Regions from separate parts of the Homo sapiens genome. Here all the other regions are linked to region 2. The links are contacts of gene promoters, found by promoter capture Hi-C in blood cells and fetal thymus (Javierre and others, 2016). All regions are on one chromosome and are shown on one strand. Each heading gives the region's core, a stretch centred on a gene start or on the middle of the fragment in contact. The rest is flanking DNA. Distances are from core to core; before and after follow the strand shown.

Evidence for each region. Contacts are between HindIII fragments. The CHiCAGO score rates a contact against its expected background, and 5 or more counts as called.
Region 1: a fragment that was not itself captured here is called in contact with the fragment with the promoter of RTTN in region 2 in 6 of 17 cell types (monocytes, M1 macrophages, M0 macrophages and 3 more); the score reaches 15.4 in monocytes.
Region 3: a contact is called between a fragment that was not itself captured here and the fragment with the promoter of RTTN in region 2, in 9 of 17 cell types (monocytes, M0 macrophages, M1 macrophages and 6 more). The highest score is 34.7, in monocytes.

Annotation. Positions count from the first base shown.
Region 1 is chr18:70,394,099-70,398,514 of GRCh38, reverse strand. No RefSeq gene overlaps it. Among named protein-coding and RNA genes, the nearest start is that of LINC01910, 12 kb to the right of the region's middle. The HindIII fragment of the contact is 2,630 bases long and covers 1,131-3,760 here.
Region 2 is chr18:70,202,857-70,207,632 of GRCh38, reverse strand. It overlaps RTTN (rotatin), which reads left to right and starts at 1,946. Exons shown (of 49, transcript NM_173630.4): 1 at 1,946-2,005; 2 at 2,318-2,505; 3 at 3,370-3,547. The coding sequence starts at 1,975. LOC105372180 (a long non-coding RNA gene) reads right to left here and starts at 1,844. Exons shown (of 3, transcript XR_935599.3): 1 at 1,059-1,844; 2 at 539-604. RefSeq lists enhancers at 1,547-1,786, 1,249-1,878, 1,797-1,906, 2,117-2,246. The HindIII fragment of the contact is 5,232 bases long and covers 1-3,428 here.
Region 3 is chr18:70,417,169-70,421,948 of GRCh38, reverse strand. No RefSeq gene overlaps it. Among named protein-coding and RNA genes, the nearest start is that of LINC01910, 35 kb to the right of the region's middle. The HindIII fragment of the contact is 3,005 bases long and covers 1,036-4,040 here.

The sequences.
Region 1 (4,416 bases), core at 1,196-3,695, 190 kb before region 2:
TATTTCAAATTTGTAGTATCACTAGAAATAATAGAATTTTCTACCAGAGAAGCACATGCTTTAGGGACCTATCCCATTGACCAGTTTTAGCTCATATAAAGTCACTGAACACAGGCTGGTATAACTAGAAGCAGATCGCTGGGAATAGGTAAATCTTTCTTCTGAGAATAGAATTCAATTTGTGGTAATGACTGTGTGTTTTCACTGGCCCACAAAAAGCCATGAGGTTACCTTTGGTACTTGAAGCCTTTGATTTAGAGGCAGGTCTATGCCTACTTTTCCCAAGGGAAAGGGAATGCTACTTTGGCAAGGATTGTGGAAATGAAGAATGTTGATTGCTAGGAGCAGAAAAGTCAATGAAAAAAAAAACAATGGAAGAAAAGAGTGCAAAGTAAAGGCTATTAATGAAAGGTATCAAATCTAAAAGTATGTGGTAAGTGGACCAATTAGTGGATCATCTCTTAGATTGGCCCCAAAAAATAGTTTTTTGTGTTTTTGATTTTTGGGGAGGGGGAACAGGGTCTCACTCTGTCATTCAGGCTGGAGTACAGTGGTGTGATCATAGCTCAGCCTTGATCTCCTGGTCTCAAATGATACTCCCACCTCAGACTCCCAAGTGGCTAGGACTACAAGCATATGCCACCACAGTCAGCTAGTTTTAAAAAGTTTTTTGTACAGACAGAGTCTCACAATGTTGCCCAGGCTGGTCTCAAATTCCTGGCCTCAAGTGATCATCCCGCATTGGCCTCCCAAAGTGCTGGGGTTACAGGCATGAGACACCATGCCTGGCCCCAAAACTCAGTTTTAATGGATGATCCGAGAATGAGTCAAAGGACAGCTTTAATTCACTCATCTATACTCAGATGACTGTACTCAGAGAAATAAGAATAAAGAAACAAAAGCAAAAGAAGCAGCAGACATTCACCCAGAAATCTGCGTATTGTCAAATTTACAGAATTATGTAATAAAATATTAGTTTGGCTTTCACCAAAAACTGGATCAATTGTTTGTACTGATATAGATACTGATGTATACTAAATACAATAGAAAGTTGCGTAATAAGATGTAACCGACTCACATTCATGGATTATGCATTGTATAAATGCTTCATTGTTAGCAGAACCAAAGCTTCCCAGGAAAATAACTTCCAATTCCCTTTGCAATAAAATCCTACTTGTATATATTAAGAAACTTCTCAGACCTTCATTCTCTTTTGAATAACCTGAAAATAACTTTATTATTTTCATTTTTCTGCATTTCTTGTGTGAATTTCCACTAAGCTGAATGAAACAAATCATTTACTTCTCAATAGACGTGAGACGACCAATTGTTATCTCATATAAAAGGAAAGACTACATGTTGTTGATATCAAAGGCATTCAGGTTTTGGAAGTTATTTGTGAAAGTTTAAAAGAGGACAAAATAAGAAATTGCTACAAAAATCAACCAAGTTCATTCAGTTCCAGTGCATAATCACTGATCAAGTATCTGTTTTGCACTAGGCATTGTACTGTGTTCACAGAATTCTAAGATGAATACGATATATTCCCTCTAGAAGCATATGTATTAGTGGGTAAACAGACATGTAAAATAAATAAACATTTCTATGTAATGCACAAGTGCTACGATAGAGGCATCAGTTGAAATTGTAAGTATTCAAATAATGGAATTTTAAAAATCCATACACAACACATTTTCAATCAAACAAGAAGCAAGGGAGATATATAGTGGTTTTTTTTAAGTACTTGTAATAGACTGAACAATGGCTTCCAAAATGTCCATGTCCTAATCTCTGGAAGCTGTGAATATGTGAGGGTACACGGCGGAGGGGAGTTGCAGATGAATTAAGGATGCCAATCAGATTGCTTAAATTAGGAAGACTATCTTGAATTATCCAGCTAGGCCCATGTAAACATCCTTAAAATCTTTAAAAATGAAAGAGAAAGACAGAAGGAGTCAGAGTCAGCCAGAGGGTTATGACTATGAAAGAAAGGCACAAAGAGAGGTAGCACTGCTGGCCTTCGAAATGGAGAAAAGGACCACGAGCCAAGGAATGCAGGCAGCATGCAGAAGCTGGAAACACAGTGGAGACAGAGTCTCCCCTATAGCCCCCAGAAATGAACGTGGCCTGGACTTCTGTCCTCAAGATCAGTTTGATAATAAATGTGTGGGGTTCTTTTGTTTTTGTTTTGCTTTGTTTTGGAGACAGGGTCTCATTCTGTCACCCAGGCTGGAGGGCAGTGACACGGTCTCGGCTCACCGCAACCTCCACCTCCCAGGTTCAGGCGATTCTCCTGTCTCAGGCTTCTGAGTAGCTGGGATTACAGGTGTACACCACCATGTCCGGCTAATTTTTGTATTTTTTTAGTAGAGACAGGGTTTCACCAAGTTGGCCAGGCTGGCCTCAAACTCCTGGCCTCAAGTGATCTGCCCGCCTCAGCCTCCCAAAATGCTGGGATAACAGGTGTGAGCCACCACGCCCGGCCAGATGTGTGTTGTTTTTAAACACTAAACTTACAGTAATTTATGACAGCAGCAGCAGGAAACCAACACAATACCCAAGAGGGATGAGATCTACAGGATTCTATTTAGCATCCTAAGAAGTTTTCTGAATTTAAAATTTCTGAGGTCATGATCTACTCTAAGTTCTTTTTCACCTTTTTCATTGTGAGCTTTTGAAGGAAGCAAGGAGAGCATGGGGAAGGGAAGGAGAAACTCATACGTGTGTCCTAAGTACTGAGTGCTGAGATGGGACTCTTCCCCTAGATTATCTCATTGGATCCTCACAGAAAGTCCTGGAACGATGATTTTATTGTCCCATCTTCACAGATAAAGAAATGGAGATTCCGAGCATTAAAGATACAATGCTGATACACTTCTCTCAGACTGCAAAGCCCTTGCTCAATCAATACGCCAGGCTACTGCAAATAAAATCCTAGGCTCCAACACACCGTGGGCTCAGGGGCCTAGGAAAGACCACCATCCTGCCCAAAGGCCTCCTCAGTCTTTTGGTAGCAAAGACAAAAAGAGACTATTTTCTATTTAAATACCATATCTCATCAATACTAGGATTCACCTTTGACATAGTTTGTGATATGGTTAAACTGTGTGTTCCCACCCAAATCTCATCTTGAATGGTAATCCCCGTAATCCCCACATGTCAAAGGAGAGACCAGGTGGAGGTAACTGAAACATGGGGGTGGTTTCTCCCATGCTGTTCTCATGATAGTGAGTGAGTTCTCACAAGATCTGATGGTTTTATAAGAAGCTCTTCCCTTTTCACTCGGCACTTCTTCCTGCCGACTTGTGAAGAAGGTGCCTTGCTTCCCTTTTGCCTTCCGCCATGATTGTAAGTTTCCTGAGGCCTCCCCAGCCATGCTGAACTGTGAGTCAATTAATCCCCTTTTCTTTATAAATTACCCAGTCTCAGGCAATTCTTCATAGCAGTGTGAGAACAGATTAATACAGTTTGGATACTTGTCTCCCCAAATCTCATGTTGAAATGTCATCCCCATTGTTGGAGGTGGGGCCTGGTGGGAGGTGATTGGATCATGGGGGTGGATGGATTTCCCATGAATGGTTTAGCACTATCCTATTGGTGCTGTCCTCACCGTAGTGAGTAGGTTCTCATGAGGTCGGGTTGTTTAAATGTGTGGCACCTCTCCCCCACTCTCTCTCACTCCCGCTCTTGCCATGTGAGGTGCCTACTCCCCCATGTGATGAGCCTGATCCCCCTTTGCTTTCTGCTATGATTGGAAGCTTCCTGAGGCTCTGACCAGAAGTATCTACCGGTGCCATGCTTCCTGTACAGGCTGCAGGAATGTGAGCCAATCAAACCTCGTTTCTTTATAAATTACTCAGTCTCAGGATTTTTTCTTTTCTTTTTTCTTTTCTTTTCTTTTCTTTTCTTTTTTTTTTTTTTTTTGAGATGGAGTCTCACTCTGTCGCCAGGCTGGAGTGCAGCGGCACGAAGTCGGCTCACTGCAACCTCTGCCTCCCGGGTTCAAGCTATTCTCCTGCCACAGCCTCCTGAGTAGCTGGGACTATAGGAATGCACCACCATGCCCAGCTAATTTTTGTATTTTTAGTATAGACGGGGCTACACCATGTTGGCCAGGATGGTCTCGATCTCTTGACCTTGTGATCTGCCTGCCTCGGCCTCCCAAAGTGCTGGGATTACAGGCGTGAGCCACTGCACCCAGCCTCAGGTATTTCTTTACAGCAATGCAAGAACAGCCTAATATAACCCTCTTTTCTGTCTCCTTTTTTTTTTCTTTTGAGGGAGGACCTCACACTGTCACCCAGGCTGGAGTGCAAGTGGTGCAATCTCAGCTCACTGCAACCTCTGCCTCCCGGGCTCAAGCGATTCTCCCACCTCAGCCTCCCAAGTAGCTGGGACAACAAGTGTGCATCACCA
Region 2 (4,776 bases), core at 697-3,196:
ATTAACACCTTCCTTCCTGGATAACTACAGACACTTCTGAGTTGGTGTAACTGGTTCTGCAGTGCCCACTGTGGTATGCTATCCATCAGGACATGTGGTCTTTGGGTCAAGGAATTCAGCCACTGTTACAATCTTGGCCAGGCAGGCTTAGGCATGGGCTAGTGGAATCTTGGTTTAATATCCGTATCTCTTTCCTCCTACTTTCCAATTTCCTGCTGATGCCTCCTATCGGCGGCAACCAACTGGAAGCCAGAGGGCCAGGCAGCCTGGATAGTGCAGTCTTTTTGCCTGTTCAGGTCAGTTGATGCAGAGCTGGAAGAGCTGGGAGGAACCACTAGAAGGTGGAATGGAGAATATCCAGCATGCTAGCAGCAATCTTGCCCTTCCTCTCTTCTTCCCAGAGATAATATGGCCACCTTGAATTTTGTTCTTTTCCCGAATTTGACACACTCCGTCTGGATTCTTGCCTTTGCAAATACAGGTTTCTCCTGCAGGAATTTCCTTACCCAACTTCTTTGTGTGGCAAACTCCTACTTACTCTTTAAGATCCAACTCAAATATCATCACTCTCCTATTGACACACATGAGGAGGCAGCAAGGCACTCTAAATAGAACAAAGAAACATCAGGTCAGCTCCTCAATCTGTCACTTACTAGTTAATGTGACTTTGTGTGGGGGTACTTTTGTGATTCTAAGTTTCCTCTTTGGCAAAATAGGAATGGGAATACAGTAGGCCTTTGCTGTCCACTGGTTGCACACAGAGAATTCAACACACGGGATGGAAAATATTCGGGAAAAAACCCCACAGTTGAAAATAACAATACAACAATTAAAAAATAATATGAATAAAAGTACAGTGTAACAACTATTTACATAGCATTTACAGTGTATTAGGTATTGTAAGCAATCTAGAGATGATTTAAAGCATATAGGAGGATGTGTGTAGGTTATATGCAAATACTACACCATTTTATAAAAGAGACTTAAGCATGGGTGGATTTGGGTATCTGCGGGGGTCCTGGAACCAATTACCTAGGGATACCGAGGGCCCACTTTACCTGCCTTGACATCCCTTTCCCAGGGAACGTGAAATGATCAGACCGAGAAAATGCAAATCATTTTCCAAATGTAATTTTGTTGTTGTTCTTACCGCTGCTTATAATTAAAAAAAAAATAATTTGCTCAGCTCGATCACTGTGCACGGTGCAAAAAATCAACTTTGGTACCATTCAGCAAATCATACCCCCACGTCCCGCCTTTATTTTCCTTTTTTGCAGCCCGGTTTCTCTCTTCTGCTCACTCATACCCGCCCACCCCGCTTTTGTAGCTTGCTTGTTCATATCTGAACTTGGGTATCCAAAGACACTGCTTGACTTTGCAGGTACATTTCACAGTTAAAGAGGGTTCGTCATTTAGTAGTCGGGGATGGGGAGAACTGTCACAAAGCAAAAGTCTACATTCTAAATCGTGAAGTTCTGGGAGCTGAGAATCAGATTGGCAGGGCCAAGAACGAATCCGTCGACGAGCCGGGAGGCGGGGCTCCTGCTGGGGCCTCTGCAGCCCGCGCTGGGTTCCCGAATTCCCGCGCTGTAAGCCGGAACCCCAGGCCAGCGGGCGCCGCGGCGGGCCCGGAGATCGGTGCAGGACGCACGGCCTAGCCAGAACTACAACTCCCGACGTGCGCGGCGGCCAACGCTGGTTCTATCCCTGCTTGTTGCTTTTTTTTTTCCCTCCGCTTCTTGCGACGGAGACTGCTGTCCAGGAAGTGCGCAGTAGTGATTCTAGAGAGGCTGGAAGCTCTCCTGGCGACGCTGGGGCCGCGAAGGGCTCACGTAATGACTCCTACTCCTGGTGAGCGCAGGCGTTGCGGAACTCACCGTCCCACAGGACGTGTTTCCGGGGGTACATTAATTGTGGCTGGACGCAGTGGCGCGGCAGTTTAATTCTCCGGCGGCTGCAGATTGACGGGACGAGATGGTCCTGGCAGGGCTCATCAGGAAACTCGGTAACTGTCAGCTTGCCCCTCGCCCAAGGCACCCCCCGCGCTCTGGCCACTTGCTGAGAATGGTCGTGTCACGTTTCCGCGGCCGGCCGCTCCGCGACCGCTCCCTCTTTCACCCCCGCTTTGTCAGGATAGCCCCCGGGGACCCATCTCGGACTTTGTGTAAACTTCGCGGTTCGCGTCCCGAAGGCACCAGTGGCCTGCTTCTGAAAAAAACTGGTTTATTCCGTCTTCACGCCGCTCCTGCCCACAGCATAAATAACGTAGTCTCTTTGCAGTCGGGAAATAAAATAGTTTTGTGCCGTTCGTTGACAGGTCATCAGCTGGCCGAGATCAGGGAGCGCGCTCTCAAGAGTATTCTCTGCAAGATTGAGCACAACTTAATCTGCTACGCTGATCTCATTCAGGAGAGGCAACTTTTTCTTCATTTGCTGGAATGGTTCAATTTCCCGTCCGTTCCGATGAAGGAAGAGGTTCTGAACCTGTTAAGCAGATTGGTTAAGGTAGGGTCATTTTGAAATAAAGAAAATAATCAGACGAGTGACTTGTTTCTTAGTCATTTAATTGTAGCGTTTATTGAAAGTTAAATAATTGGGGTTAAAAGTTTTTTTAATCAACCAGAGATGTTTAATTTTAATTAATCTGGGTATATGGTTCATCTTTTATTTGTGATACTGAATCCCACATGGTCTCTGCTGTGCTCAGAAGTAACACAGAACTTCTTTTGAGTTTTGGTATGTTCTGTGTTTTTGAGTTATCTTTGGAGGTTAATATTTGTATTCTGTTTTTGTTTTCTGACATTTACATCTTAAAAACTAGATATGTCAGTATGAAAGGGAGCACTTTAAAAATAATGTTACATAACCGTGATTCATAAATACCAATGTTAAGTTGCTTGCCCATATGCTTTTAGATTGGTATTCTTATGCCTACCTCAAGAGTAGTTAGTTATCGGGGTCAGATATCAAAGTGTAAGTTTAACCTTTCAAAACTAAATCACTGTACAATGGTAGAGGAATCTTAAACTACTTTGACATCCTGTTGACCGGTTGGGGCTGGGACCATAAGGTGAGTGTCAGTGGAAAAAAGTAACCCATTAAAAAAATAAGAGTAGGGATTGATAATGTGCATTTCTAGCGTTCAGTGTGTTGGCTCATCTTTCATAAATGTTATCAAGTGTTGGATGTATGTCTCTATAGGTGTATGTGCTCCTCATGGAAGTGCCTTACTTCGGGGCAGAGCCATGAAGGATTTGTTTTTCAGAAAAGGAACATCTGATATACCAAAAATAATTTTATGTTTTGATTGCTGTAAGTTATAGAGATTTTGATACAGTTATTCTCAAGATCATCCTCTTCTTATTTTAGTATCCCCCAGCAGTCCAACATTTGGTTGACGTTGGTGCAGTAGAGTTCTTATCTAAGCTTCGGTCTAATGTGGAGCCAAATCTGCAGGCTGAAATTGATGGCATTCTGGATGGACTTTTTCTTCTTCCTTCGGAAGTTCCTGCACTATCTTCTGCCTCATACCAAACCAATCAAACTGGTAACTCTTTGGAATCTGTTAAATACAAATATATTAATTCTAATGGTAAATTTTAAGGAAAGGGAGATTAGATTTTTTTAAAAAGGATTTCTCCCACCTCCCCCAAACTTATTTTTCTTGTGTTAACTTACATGATTTTGACCTTTTTCCCCTCCTCTACTGTTAGTCAAAGGATGGTACATTTGCATTAATTGCTTTTTGGGTCAGGCCTAAACGATGCCAGTGACTTTGCTTTTATGAGGCCAGTTTGACAGATTATTTTTTTGGCAATAACAATGTATTTTTATTGAGCACATGAGTGCTCATTGTTCTTAGTGCTTTATATTTGTATTTTTGACCTTGTTCGTCATATTGGAGTATAATGATATCTGTCCTAGCTCATGATCTTGTTGTGGGGACCAATCAAAACGACATAATGCAAGTATTTTTATATGCTGCAGTCCATCATGATATACTTGTTAAAATCCAAGTCAAAGAGACATGGATTTAAGTCTCAGTTCTGCTGCTAGTTGTGTGACCTTGGCTAAGGTAATTAACCCTTCCAGGCTTCAGTTTTCTCATTCAAAAACTGGGATAATAAGAAAGAACACCGGGCTGGGCATGGTGGCTCACGCCTGTAATCCCGGCACTTTGGGAAGCCGAGGCAGGTGGTCAGAAGTTCAAGACCAGCCTGACCAACATGGTGCCCCGTCACTACTAAAAATACAATACAAAAATTAGCCGGACATAGTGGCGGGCGCCTGTAATCCCAGCTAGTAGGGAGGCTGAGGCAGGAGAATCACTTGAACCCGGGGGGCGGAGGTTGCAACGGTGAGCTGAGATCACTCCATTGCACTCCAGCCTGGGTGACAGAGCAAGACTCCATCTCGAAAAAAAAAAAAGAACACTTTCTCATAGAATCGTCATGAGATTAGATGAGACAATGTCTGTAAAGTGCTTAGCACAGGGCCCAGCATGTATGAAATGTGGCTGTGTTGGCTGCTGTGCTGCTGCTGTTGTGTTGTTGTTAATGCCTAGTATAGTGCCTTGCACATGGAATGCATTTGAATTGATTTGAAGAAAAACATCTTCATGCAATTTATGTGACTGAGTAGTAAAAGTAAAAAAAAAAAAAAAAAGTTTTGATGCTTAACCTGTTAGACCATATTTTCTTCTCTGCCAGTACTGTTACAGCTTCAGCTGTGGGTACTGCGGTTCACAACAACAATAGCAGCTGTCATTTATTGAGT
Region 3 (4,780 bases), core at 1,289-3,788, 210 kb before region 2:
AATTAAATGTCTTCTTTAGTCATTAAATGTGGAGCTCGATACTGAATCCTTTGACCATGCTCTTTTTTCAATACAGAAGATAGATGCCCAGGTATTACCGGATTGTAACAAAGCTACCAAAGAAGTATGATCATTGCTTAAAGAAATATTTGTGCAAAGCGGGGAAAATAGCCTTACAGTCAGGAGCATTAATCCCACCTAAGCCAGCCAAAATTAGAATGCTTGACAGCACAATTTGAAGGAGAAGGAAATGAGCAAAGAAGATGACGACTGACATTTAGGTTGGCCAGTGGGTTATTAGTCATAATAAAGAAAGGCAAAAACAATAATAAAGTAGAAAAGATTTGCCCCATTAGTCAGCAGTGTAAAGAAGCAGGTGTAAATGATAGCACTGAACATTGGAAGATGTGGACCATGCCGGAGAAATTGTCCCTGCGGAAGCATTCAACTGTTGTAGTCAAACAATGTTGTAATTATTCTTACACTCTTGTAGGCCCATCACTATATATATTTATTCAATATTTATTTATTGAACATCTACTTATATATAACTACCTTAATCACTTTAGTACCTATGGAGACGAATAATTTCTGCATTTAAGAACTTTTCTGGCTAGGCATGGTGGCTCATGCCTGTAATCTCAGCACTTTGGGGGGCTAAGGTGGATCGCCTGAGGTCAGGAGTTCAAGACCAGCCTGGCCAACATGGAGAAACCCCGTCTCTACGAAAAATACAAAAATTAACTGGGCGTGGTGGCGGGCACCTGTAATCCCAGCTACTCGGGAGGCTAAGGCAGAAGAATTGCTTGAACATGGGAGGCAGAGGTTGCAGTGAGCCGAGGTCATGCCACTGCACTCCAGCCTGGGTGAAAGAGTGAGACTCTGTCTCAAAAGAAAAAAAAAAGAACTTTTCTGTTACGTAAGGGCAACAGCTAATGATAACCCACTATAAGTACTATTGCACTGATAAATAAAAAGAACAATGAGCAAAAATATTCTTACCAAAAATCTTATGCTCAAGGTGAGATTAAAGCTTGCTTCAAAGAACGGATAAGATTTTAACAGGCATGTTGAGAGGAAAACTATTCTAGGAAGATTAAACAGAAAGAGCAAAGGTATTCCTTAAAATGGTTTACAAAACCCTTCCAAAGTTGACCCCACCACTCACAGTGCCTCATTGTCTGTAATCCCAGCACTTTGGGAGGCTAAGGTGGGAGGACTGCTTGAGCCTGGGAGGTCGAGGCTACAGTGAGCCATAATCTCACCACTGTACTTCAGCCTGGGTGGCAGAACAAGAATCTGTCTCAGACACACAAAAAAAGCTGATCCCCACTTAAATTTCCTGCTTATAATTCTCCCCACTCACCAAACTTCCTGCATCCTCCTATTTGTCATGTTTTCTGAAACCTCAGGACCAGAAACAGTTTTTTCCTAAACTTCTATACCTAGAAAACTCCTGATTTCCACTAGAATAGAAAGTAATTATTTCAGGCTTTGAAGACTATGCGGTCTGACTCACAACTATTCAATTTTGCTGTTATGCTGTGAAAATAGCCATGAACAATATTTAAATGAATGAGCAGGCCGTGTTGCAATATAACTTTATTTACAAAAACAGGAAGAGGATTGGATTTGGCCCACAGGTCATAGTTTGCTAACCCCTGCTATGGTGCAACATCACTCTCTCCTGGAAGGGAATGATGTTTTTAGTCCCAAGAAATATATGGAATGCAACTGTCTCATGTACTATTGGTTGTTTAATTGAAATTCAAATTTAACTGAGCGTCCTGTGTTCTATCTGGCAATCCTAATAAATGTCCATCAGAACTTCCTGTCTTCATAACAGCAATGCCAAAAATCCTAAGCGCTCAATTTCTGGTAAAACGTGTGTCTCTCGCTTTTCTCCAGCGGACGTTTCCCCCATCCCTTCATCTTCAATTCCCATTCCCCCAGACTCTCTCCCCTCTACAAGTTTGTTAATTGTTTTTAGAGAATGAGAAAGTAATTTTCATTTCTTTAATGAGTGTTTAAAGAATTAAGGAACGTTTGTCATGGCAGATACAGAAAATAACAGTCTCAAGATTCTCTCATTCCCTGGGTTTTATACCGTTGTATTAATCTAAAAGCTACCCATTTCATCATCTCCTTTTAATTCTCCCTGATGATTCAGGAGCTGTACTGCCTGTGGTTGGATTTGCTGCGATAACTTATCTCCATAGGACAGGAATTTATGAACTGGTTGCATTTAGATTGGAGCTGTTTTCAAGAGTCTCCTGAGCTGACCTTTTAGAGTAAACCTCTAATCTCCAATGCAGAATTAAAGACTCTGCTTCTTATGAAAGAAATCACAGGCACCAGCTACTCTTGAAGAATGTTTTCTTGTTGTGGGAGGTGGGGAGTGGGGCAGGAGTTAGCAACTGAGTGGAGAGGAATCTTAGAACCCGCGGGCTCTGCCGGCCGCAGCTGTCTCGGCACCTTTTTTCTCAGTCACTGGGGTCACAGCTCTTTCCTCTGTGTCCTCCTCTTCTTCAGGTAACTCACCCTCTGCCCTCCTAGCTGTTCACACTAACATACACCATTTATATTCTAAGGGAGCATTAGTGTGTGTTTTTAATGATTAACTGCTCTAACACAGGTGCCTTCTGGCCGCTTCCACCCAAAACCTCCTTCAGCTGAGACCCTGCGAAGTCTTTCTGCCCCTCCTATGGTCGGGGTCATAGCAGTGACAATATGGCTCTGGTGTGGGAGGTGGCAGGGGAGACTTAGGGTCAACCCTGCTCTAAATCACTGTCATCTTCAACTGCAGAATATAACTAATACTGAAACCCACAGACCACAGAGAAGAAACACCCACACTTCCAACTCAGATTATAAAGCACAAACCCTTCTGTCTCATCTCCCACGTGCCTCCCGCCTCACCTATCCATAAGCTGCCCTTCATGCTGCTGGAAGAATATTCTTTCTGAAACATCAATGCTCACCTGTCTCTCCTGTGCCCAGGACCAGCCCTGGTATCTAGGGGCTGCAGGGCAGAATCCAGGCTTGCCTTCACAGTCTCCTCCTTTGGGCATCTCTACTATCCCAGCCTCGTTCTTCAGTGCAATCCACAGTCAGCTTCACACGGCTGTGCGATCCTCAAGCGTGAGTGTGTTTTCTGTGCCACTCACTCTTTCATCCATTCAGTCAACAGATATTAACTGAATATCTGACTTAAGCCAGGCGCAGTGAAACACACTGGGGATAAACTGGTGGAATGAACTTACAGTCCATTGACGGATGAAGAGAACTGAACAGGGTCAGACAGAGTGATGAGAGCCCAGGGAGCACATAGGAGGAACAATTCAGAGAGGGAAGGACGTTCTGGATTTTTCTTTGCCACATCAGGCAACTCTGTGTGTGTGTGTGTGTGTGTGTGTGTGTGTGTGTGTGTGTGTGTGTAACTCTATACTTGTAATGTGGAGTCATCCCAGCAAAGATGCCTGACTGAGGTCTCCCTATTTTTATTTGTGTCCTCTTGTGTTCCTTACTTTATCACTGCCATTTTGCCTATTACCATTAAATTGTTTTACAAAGAACAATACACCTATTCTCCAGATTAACCCCCAAAACAAATTTAAATACATTGCACCTAGCCAGCTGCAAAATCCCTATTTCTACTTGGGTCTGGGAATTATAGTATCCACCAATAACAGTACAAACAGATCGCTGACATTTGTACTACAGATGGTAATTTGACACATTTATTGCTCTCAGACCAAAGATATTCCTGGAGGAATTAATTTTAATTTCTTTCTAGCTATTTTTTTATTACCAATAGACAATTACTTAGATAGCATCTTGAGTAAACGCACCCCTTGTATCCTAAGCATCCTTTTTAGCCAACTCAATGGATGAGCAAACACATTGCCTCCTCTGATAAGTGTGTTGCCTTTAGATCCCAGCATCACGATCCATCTCTCAGACCTGCAGGAAATGAGATGCTATCACGTCAAGTATTTGCTTTATTTGTCTGGGGAAAATTAGCTCTTCAATTTCAAGCTTAAGGGTCCTGGGCAGAGTCGTGTTCTAGAAAGATATGTTGCACTGTGTTGCATTGAACCTGAATCCGTAATCTCAGAGGAAGGTGGGGCCAGCAGAGTCTCCAGAACTCAGCTCAGGCAACAGCTCCACGGTAGCAGGACAGCAGGTGTCACCTCTGACATCTCGCGAGCCTCCGCTCCATGGGACTTTCATCGATGAATTGACCAATAACATTTTTTCCAGTAAAATAAAATCATTTTAATGAAATAACAAAATAAAATTGGGGAAGGTTTTTGAGATTATTTTCTTTAACCAGTATTCCAATACTTTCATATACTGTATAATTTTAATGTTCTCTTAATTGTCTTTTTTTAGTAGTATTATTATTTTAGTTTTTTTGTTTTGTTTTGTTTTGTTTGAGATGGAACCTCACTCTGTCGCCCAGGCTAGAGTGCAGTGGCATGATCTCGGCTCACTGCAACCTCCGCCTCGCGGGTTCAAGCGATTCTCCTGCCTTAGCCTCCCAAGTAGCTGGGATTACAGGTGCATGCCACCACACCCAGCTAATTTTTGTATTTTTAGTAGAAACGGGGTTTCACCATGTTGGCCAGGCTGGTCTCGAACTCCTGACCTCAGGTGTTCCACCCACCTCAGGCTCCTGAAGTGCTGGGATTACAGGCATAAACCACTGTGCCCAGCCCAAAGCCACCACGCCTGGCCCTGTTATCTTAATTTTCAAAAATAAAACACTCCCAGAGAC